Linked DNA regions of Homo sapiens: all the other regions are linked to region 3. Evidence: promoter capture Hi-C in human tissues and cell types (Jung and others, 2019). All regions are on one chromosome and are shown on one strand. The core of a region is centred on a gene start or on the middle of the fragment in contact, and the rest is flanking DNA. Distances in the headings are between cores, read along the strand shown.

Region 1 (2,791 bases), core at 1-2,500, 37 kb after region 3:
GAGGAAGGCTTCTGTCTCCTGCTCGTCCCTGGGAATGGAATGTCTTGGTGTAAAGCTGACCATTCCCATTTGTTCTATTCTGAGACAGGAAAAAACCGCCCTGTGGCTGGAGGTGAGATGTGCTGGCAGCAATACTGCTCTGTTACTCTTTGCTACACTGAGATGTTTGGGTAAAGAGAAACATAAATCTAGTCTACGTGCACATCTGGGCACAGTACCTTTCCTTGAACTTATTCATGATACAGATTCCTTTGCTCACATGTTTCCCTGCTGACCTTCTCCCCACTTGTTGCCCTGCTACACTCCCCTCGCTAAGATAGTAAAAATAATGATCAATAAATACTGAGGGAACTCAGAGACGGGCACTGGTGCGGGTCCTCCATATGCTGAGCGCCGGTTCCCTGGGCCCACTGTTCTTTCTCTGTAGTTTGTCTCTGTGTCTTATTTCTTTTCTCAGTCTCTCGTCCCACCTGACAAGAAATACCCACAGGTGTGGAGGGGCTGGCCTCCTTCAGAGCCCAGGAGGCAAAGATTGCAGTGAGCCAAGATCACACCACTGTACTCCAGCCTGGGTGACAGAACAAGACCTTGTCTCAAAATAAATAAATAAATAATAAAATTGCAATCCTGCCCCACCCCCCTCCCTATTTTTCTCCATAGGACTATTTCTATGCCCTTCACTCTATGCCCTCCTTCTCCATTTGTTTACCATTTTTATTTATTTTGGGTTTATCTTCTCATCATAGCTTCTTACAAACATAAGTATATATGTATATATTTTCATGTCCCTTCCTGCTTCTTGTACTAAAGGTGCATACTATAAGCACCATTCTGAACCAGTTATCCTGGAGCTACATGATCTTCATCTCTTTCCTTTTCATAGATGCATAGTCCTCCATCACGTGGATGTATCATAGTTTTTTAAAACCAGTCCCACACTGATAATTTTGGGTTGCTCTCAGTCTTTTGCTATTGCAATAATACCATAATAAATAGCTTTGTGCATAGATCTTACACATCTTACCCCACAATTTTGAAAATTAAGTAATTTCTCCAACAACTGAGTGAGACTGGTGAATGAGAATGTTATTTTTGCAGCATTATTATTATTTTTGAGACAGTCTTGCTCTGTCGCCCAGGCTGAAGTGCAATGGCATGACCTCGGCTCACTGCAACCTCTGGGTTCAAGCAATTCTCCTGCCTCAGCCTCCCTAGTAGCTGGGATTACAGGCACCTGCCACCATGCCCAGCTAATTTTTCTATTTTTTAGTAGAGATGGGGTTTCACCATGTTGGCCAGGCTGGTCTCGAACTCCTGACCTCAAGTGATCCACCCACCACAGCCTTCCAAAGTGCTGGGATTACAGGCGTGAGCCACCATGGCTGGCCCAGGCTACACCTACTCTTAAAAGGGACCTTGTGTAACATGATGATGTAGCTTTGAATGCATCAAAGGTGAAGAGATAGAAAGGCATGTCTTTTATCTTGGCCGTTGGAGAGGTTGGGGAAATTCATTTTCTCTCATGTAGCCTGCAATCCCACCTTTGAAAGCAATACACACACTCCAGCTGTCCTACAGTATACACATACCTTCTCCCTGCCAGGATAAATACATTTAATACCATGATCTGCCCTGCTGTTATTGCACAGCAGAATTTTGGTGGTTTGCTCATGAGTTGTCTATAAATGATACTATAACATGATTTGAACCCAATATTCAAGTACTTAGTAAGCAGAGTTGCTAACTGATACCTGCATCTGACTCAAGGTGGACTAAATACCAGGCCATACCTCTTGATCAACTGACATCGGCTGCAAAAATAGGCAGTAGAAAAAGCTCAAACAATTTGGGAGGATTGTTGTGGTAGGGAAGAGGAAACAAGTCCTCTAATAATGCAGGTAGACAAACATGCCCACAGACAAAGCAGCTCTGTTGGCCACTACTTCGTTTGTAGGTGCCCCATGTGAGGTAAACCATACCCACTGATAACAGGGAGCCACCTGTGCCATACCCGACTATTCGTCTCTAACCTGCCCTGCCCAACACCTTGCCCTCATTTCTCTAGAATAGAGTGAAGATGTGCGATGAAGGCTATCTGGTTTCTAGGAACCATGGGAAGATAGAATCTGTTTACACAATGGTAAAGCTCCCTTCTGCATTAGGGAGCTTTGCAGATTGGGCTCTAGTCGAGCAGATCTGGTTACCAACTGGTCTCAATGCTGGAAACTCACAACCCTGCCAAGGCACAGAATCCCTAACCCTTAAATGCAACTGTTTCTTCCAAATGCCCTGCTACAAAGGGCATGGAAACAAAGGTTGCAACTGCCTGCAACCACTTCCTTTTGGCATTCACAAAGAATCACCCTGTCATCTAGCATTGAACCCAGTGCGCCTGGCTTTCATTTGTTTCCCTGGCTCTTTACTTTGGCTTTTCAGATCTGCTTCTAATCTTATTTCAGGACCCGTTCAAATTTTTCTTCTCTGATGTATAGGCCCAGGACTGTTGCCAGTAAATTCTGACTCTCAAATCTTCTTGCTTTGTTGATTGTGGTGGTACTACTACCCTGGGTAAAAGACTCCTTCCGCTAACTTCTGCTCCCAAAAACTCCTACAGGCTGGGCTAGTTCACTAACCTTTGCAACGAGAAGCTCAGATGCTGAAGCTTTATTTTTATTTTTATTTTGAGACGGAGTCTCACTCTGTCGCCCAGGCTGGAATGCAGTAGCGGAATCTAGGCTCACTACAACCTCCACCCCCTGGGTTCAAGCAATTTTCCTGCCTCAGCTTCCCA
Region 2 (2,700 bases), core at 167-2,666, 48 kb before region 3:
CACTGTCACCCGGGCTGGTGTGCAATCTTGGCTCACTGCCACCTCTGCCTCCCGGGTTCAAGCGATTCTCCTGCTTCAGCCTCCTGAGTAGCTGGGACTACAGGCATGCACCAGCACACCCGGCTAATTTCTGTATTTTTAGTACAGATAGGGTTTCACTATGTTGGCCAGGCTGGTCTCAAACTCCTGACCTCGTGATCCGCCCACCTCGGCCTCCCAAAGTGCTGGGATTACAGCCACTGCGCCCAGCCCAGACCAGGAATTTAAGAGAACTATGATGAATATGCTAAGGGATCTAATGGATAAAGTAGAAAGCATGCAAGAACAGATGGGCAATGCAGAGAGATGGAAATTCTAAGAAAGAATAAAAAGTAAATGCTAGAGATCAAAAACATTGTAACAGAAATAAAGAATGCCTTTGACGGGCTCATTAGTAATGTGCATAAGGCTGAGGAAAGACTCTCTCAGCTTAAAGATATGTCAATAGAAACTTCTGAAATGAAAAAGCAAAGAGAAAATAGTCCGAAAAAAAAACAAAAAGAAACTCAGGATGCTGAGTTGGGAGGATCACTCAAGCCCAAGAGGCAGAGGTTGCAGAGAGCCAAGATCGGGCCACTGCACTCCAGCCTGGGCAACAGAGCAAGACCCTGTCTCTTTAAAAAAAAAAAAAAAAAGCTGGGCACAGTGGCTCACGCCTGTAATTCCAGGACTTTGGGAGGCCAAGGCAGGCAGATCACTTGAGGTCACGAGTTTGAGACCAGCCTGGCAAACATGGCGAACCCTGCCTCTACTAAAAATATAAAAATTAGCCAGGCATGGTGGTGCATGCCTGTAGTCCCAGCTACTTGGGAGGCTGAGGCAGGAGAATCACTTGAATCCAGGAGGCAGAAGTTGCAGTGAACTGAGATTGTGCCACTGCATTCTAGCCTGGGCAAACTCCGTCTCAAAAAAAAAAAAAATCATCAAAATTAAAAGTCTGTTCTTTGAAAAGATCAATAAAATCAATAAGCCTCTAACCAGGCTAAAAAAAAAAAGAGTTGACAAATTATTAATATCAGAAGTGAAAGATACCTCTTTCACTTCTGATATTAATAATTACATATCCCATGAACATTAAGAGGTTAAGAAAGGAATATTATGAACAACTATGCCCAGGCATTTGACAAACTAGATGAAATGGGCAAATTCCTTGAAAGATACAATCTGCCAAAACATATGAAGAGAAACAGACAATCTGAATGGGCCAATATCTATTAAAGAACTTGAATCAGCCAGGCATGGTGGCTCACGCCTGTAATCCTAGCACTTTGGGAGGACGAGGTGAGCGGATCATGAGGTCAGGAGTTCGAAAACAGCCTGACCAACATGGCGAATCCCTACTTAAAATACAAAAATTAGCCGGGCGTGGTGGCAAGTGCCTGTAATCCCAGCTACTCAGGAGGCTGAGGCAGGAGAACTGCTTTAACCCAGGAGGTGGAGCGTGCAGTGAGCCGAGGTCACGCCACTGCACTCCAGCCTGGGTGACAGAGCAAGACTCTGTCTCAAAAAAAAAAAAAAGTTGAATCAATGATTAATAATTTTCTGTAACAGAAAGCATCAGGCCCAGATGAGTTCACTGGTGAATTCTATCAAATATTTAAGGAAGAAATTATTCTGACTCTCTAATCTCTTTCAGAAGATAGAAGCAGAGGGAATACTTCCTAGCTCATTCTGTGAGGTCAATATTACCTTAATATCAAAACAAGACAAAGAAAAGAAAACTACAGACCAATATTTCTCATGAATATTAATGCAAAAATACTCAACACCATATTAACAAATCAAATACGACAATGTGTAAAAAGAATTGTATGCCATAACCAGGGCCAGGCTTGGTGGCTCACACATGTAATCCCAGCACTTTGGGAGGCCAAGGGGGCAGATCTCCTGAGGTCAGGAATTCGAGACCAGCCTGGTCAACATGTAAAAACCCCATCTCTACTAAAAATACAAACATTAGCTGGGCGTGGTGGTGCACATCTGTAGTCCCAGCTACTTGGGAGGCTGAGGCAGGAGAATTGCTTGGACCTGGGAGGTGGAGGTTGCAGTGACCTGAGATCGCGTCATTGCACTCCAGCCTGGATGACGAGGGAAACTTCAACTCAAAAAACAAAACAAAACAAAACAGGCTGGGTGCAGTGGCTCACGCCAGTAATCCCAGCACTTTGGGAGGCTGAGGCAGGTGGATCACGAGGTCAGGAGTTCAAGACCAGCCTGGCCAACATAGTGAAACCCTGTCTCTACTAAAAATACAAAAATTAGCTGGGCATGGTGGCACGCACCTGTAGTCCCAGCTACTCCAGAGGCTGAGGCAGGAGAATCGCTGGAACCTGGGAGGTGGAGGTTGCTGTGAGCTGGGATCACGCCACTGCACTCCAGCTTGGGTGACAGAGCGAGACTTCGTCTCAAAAACAAAACAAAACAAAAGAATTATATACCGTGACCAAATGGAATTACCCAAGGTATGCAAGCCTGGTTCAACATTCAAAAACTCAATCACTATAATCCATCACATCAACAGAGAAAGAAAAATCACAAGATTACATCAATAGATACAAAAAAAAATTGACTAAGTCCGATACCCATTTATGATAAAAACTCTCACCAAACTAGGACTAGAAGAGAACTTCCTCTATTTGATAAAGAACATTAACAAAACCC
Region 3 (2,700 bases), core at 176-2,675:
GGGTTTCACTGTGTTAGCCAGGATGGTCTCGATCTTCTGATCTCGTGATCCGCTCGCCTCAGCCTCCCAAAGTGCTGGGATTACAGGGGTGAGCCACCGTGCCTGGCCCAAAGAGGGTATTTTTTTCTTCCCTCTCGGTATCATCCTTACTCAATTACAAATGATCAAGGGCGGTACTGCCAGAGTCACCTCGAGAGGCCCTGTTCTCTGCCACCCAGGCTGTTTTGTAGTCTCCATTCCAAATTGTCGTTACTCCGGTTTACCCCGTGGATGGCGTTTAAGACTTTTCTTAAATTTGAAATTCACAGAACCATTTTAAAGTGAACAATTCAGTGGCATTTAGTACCTTCGCAGTGTTGTGCAACTTCCACCTCTATCTAGCTGCAAAACATTTTCTTTTCTTTTTTTTTTTGGAGACAGAGTCTCGCTCTGTTGCCCAGACTGGAGTGCAGTGGCGTGATCTTGGCTCACTGCAACTTCTGTCTCCCGGGTTCAAGCAATTCTCCTGCCTCAGCCTCCCGAGTAGCTGGGATTACAGGCACACGCCACCCGCCTGGCTAATTTTTTGTATTTTAGTACAGACGGGGATTTACCATATTGCCCAGGCTGGTCTCAAACTCCTGAGCTCAGGCAATCCGCCCGCCTTGTCCTCCCAAAGTGCTAGGATTACAGGCGTGAGCCAACGCGGCCGGCCTTGTAAAACATTTTCATCACACAAAAGAAAACCTTCTACCCATTAAGCAGTTACTCCTTCCTCTTCTCAGCCCCTGTCAACCACCAATTTGCTTTCTATCCTATGGATTTAACTGTCTGGATATTTCATAGAAATAGAATCACATAATGTATGACCTTTTCTGTTTGGCTTCTTTCTATTAGCCTAATGTTTTTGAGGTTCATTCCTGTTGAAGCATGTATCAGTTCTTCATTCCTTTTTTGGGATGAATAATGTTCCATAATTTATTTATCCTTTCGTCTGTTGATGAACATTTGAGTTGTGTCCACATCTTGGCTATTGTGAATAGTGCTGCCATGTACATTCGTATGTAAGTATTTGAGTATCTGTTGGGTGTATACCTATGAATGGAATTGCTGGGTCTTTTGACAATTCTGTATTTAACTTTTTGAGAAACTGCCAACATTTTCACAGGGGTTGTACCATTTCACATTCCCACCAGCAATCTACAAGGATTCTAATTTCTCCACATCCTGCATTTAAGACTTGCAAAGCTGAATTAATCACAGGATGAGGAAGTGGCTTCTCTGAAACATTTTCCTCTTTCACATTTTAAACTTTCTCTTTCATACATGACATGAAACACAGCCTACGCACGAAAGTGACTAGGAGGAAGGATATTATAAAGTGATGCAAACAGAAATTCCACCAGCCTCCATGTATCATCATGTGTCATAACTCAGTCAAGCTCAGTGAGCATTCTCAGCACATTGCCTCAACAGCTTCAAGGTGAGCCAGCTCAAGACTTTGCTCTCCACCAGGCAGAAGATGACAGACTGTGAATTTGGATATATTTACAGGCTGGCTCAGGACTATCTGCAGTGCGTCCTACAGATACCACAACCTGGATCAGGTCCAAGCAAAACGTCCAGAGTGCTACAAAATGTTGCGTTCTCAGTCCAAAAAGAAGTGGAAAAGAATCTGAAGTCATGCTTGGACAATGTTAATGTTGTGTCCGTAGACACTGCCAGAACACTATTCAACCAAGTGATGGAAAAGGAGTTTGAAGACGGCATCATTAACTGGGGAAGAATTGTAACCATATTTGCATTTGAAGGTATTCTCATCAAGAAACTTCTACGACAGCAAATTGCCCCGGATGTGGATACCTATAAGGAGATTTCATATTTTGTTGCGGAGTTCATAATGAATAACACAGGAGAATGGATAAGGCAAAACGGAGGCTGGGTATGTGTGATGGAAAAATTCTTCATTGTTCTTTCCTGTGAAATAGAAATTGAGAATTTCCTTGCTAGTTAAAACAACAACAAAACACTTTACCTAAGAATACTATTTTCCTTGGGTGGTTTGTTTTAATTTTTAAAATAAAAATATACTTTCTGGCTTATTTCCAATGAATCCTTGAACTTGAACTTTATAGTTGGAAAGCACTTATGTTTTCAGTTTTTATTCTTAACAGTATAAATTACAGTAGTGAGCTTTGGGGATTAATAAAGCACCTCTCTCATGCAGCTTCACAATCAGCTGTGCACACACTCTAATCTAGTACTTAGCTTTTGCTAGGGTTGTCATGACAGTACAGACAGTACAGAAATTTCTACAATCAGCACAGAAAGTTGCTATCAGATGCTGTTATTTTTAGGTATTTATGGGTTGCAAAAGACAGGTGTAAATTTTTGTAAGTTCATCGCTTACAAATTGGTGTTTTTCAGTTTACTAATACATAATAAATAGTAACATATATTAATATATAGCAAATTACATTACATATAATATATAACACATTATTACTAATAATAAATTCCGGGCTGTTAAAGTTTGTTGATTAAAACATAATATACTGTATGACCAGCAAGAACCTTTATTCAAGAATTTTCAAATAAAAATTTACTTTATTATCAGTGCCTAAAAAAGCCAAGACTATGTAGAGGCCTGTGTTGAAACTCATGTTGGTAAAAAGCCTGACACAGCTGGATGTATATGGTTTCCTTTATATTCCAATATAC

The links. The method cuts DNA at HindIII sites, captures the fragments that hold promoters and counts their contacts. A contact is called where the count stands out against the background at its distance.
Region 1: a fragment that was not itself captured here is called in contact with the fragment with the promoter of BCL2A1 in region 3 in 1 of the 25 tissues and cell types used here (adrenal gland).
Region 2: a contact is called between a fragment that was not itself captured here and the fragment with the promoter of BCL2A1 in region 3, in 1 of the 25 tissues and cell types used here (lymphoblastoid cells).

What each region holds. Positions count from the first base shown.
Region 1 is chr15:79,932,971-79,935,761 of GRCh38, reverse strand. No RefSeq gene overlaps it. Among named protein-coding and RNA genes, the nearest start is that of ST20, 11 kb to the right of the region's middle. The HindIII fragment of the contact is 4,458 bases long and covers 1-2,791 here.
Region 2 is chr15:80,017,926-80,020,625 of GRCh38, reverse strand. No RefSeq gene overlaps it. Among named protein-coding and RNA genes, the nearest start is that of ZFAND6, 40 kb to the left of the region's middle. The HindIII fragment of the contact is 3,110 bases long and covers 1-2,700 here.
Region 3 is chr15:79,969,921-79,972,620 of GRCh38, reverse strand. It overlaps BCL2A1 (BCL2 related protein A1), which reads left to right and starts at 1,425. Exons shown (of 2, transcript NM_004049.4): 1 at 1,425-1,921. The coding sequence starts at 1,502. RefSeq lists an enhancer at 802-2,001. The HindIII fragment of the contact is 21,858 bases long and covers 1-2,700 here.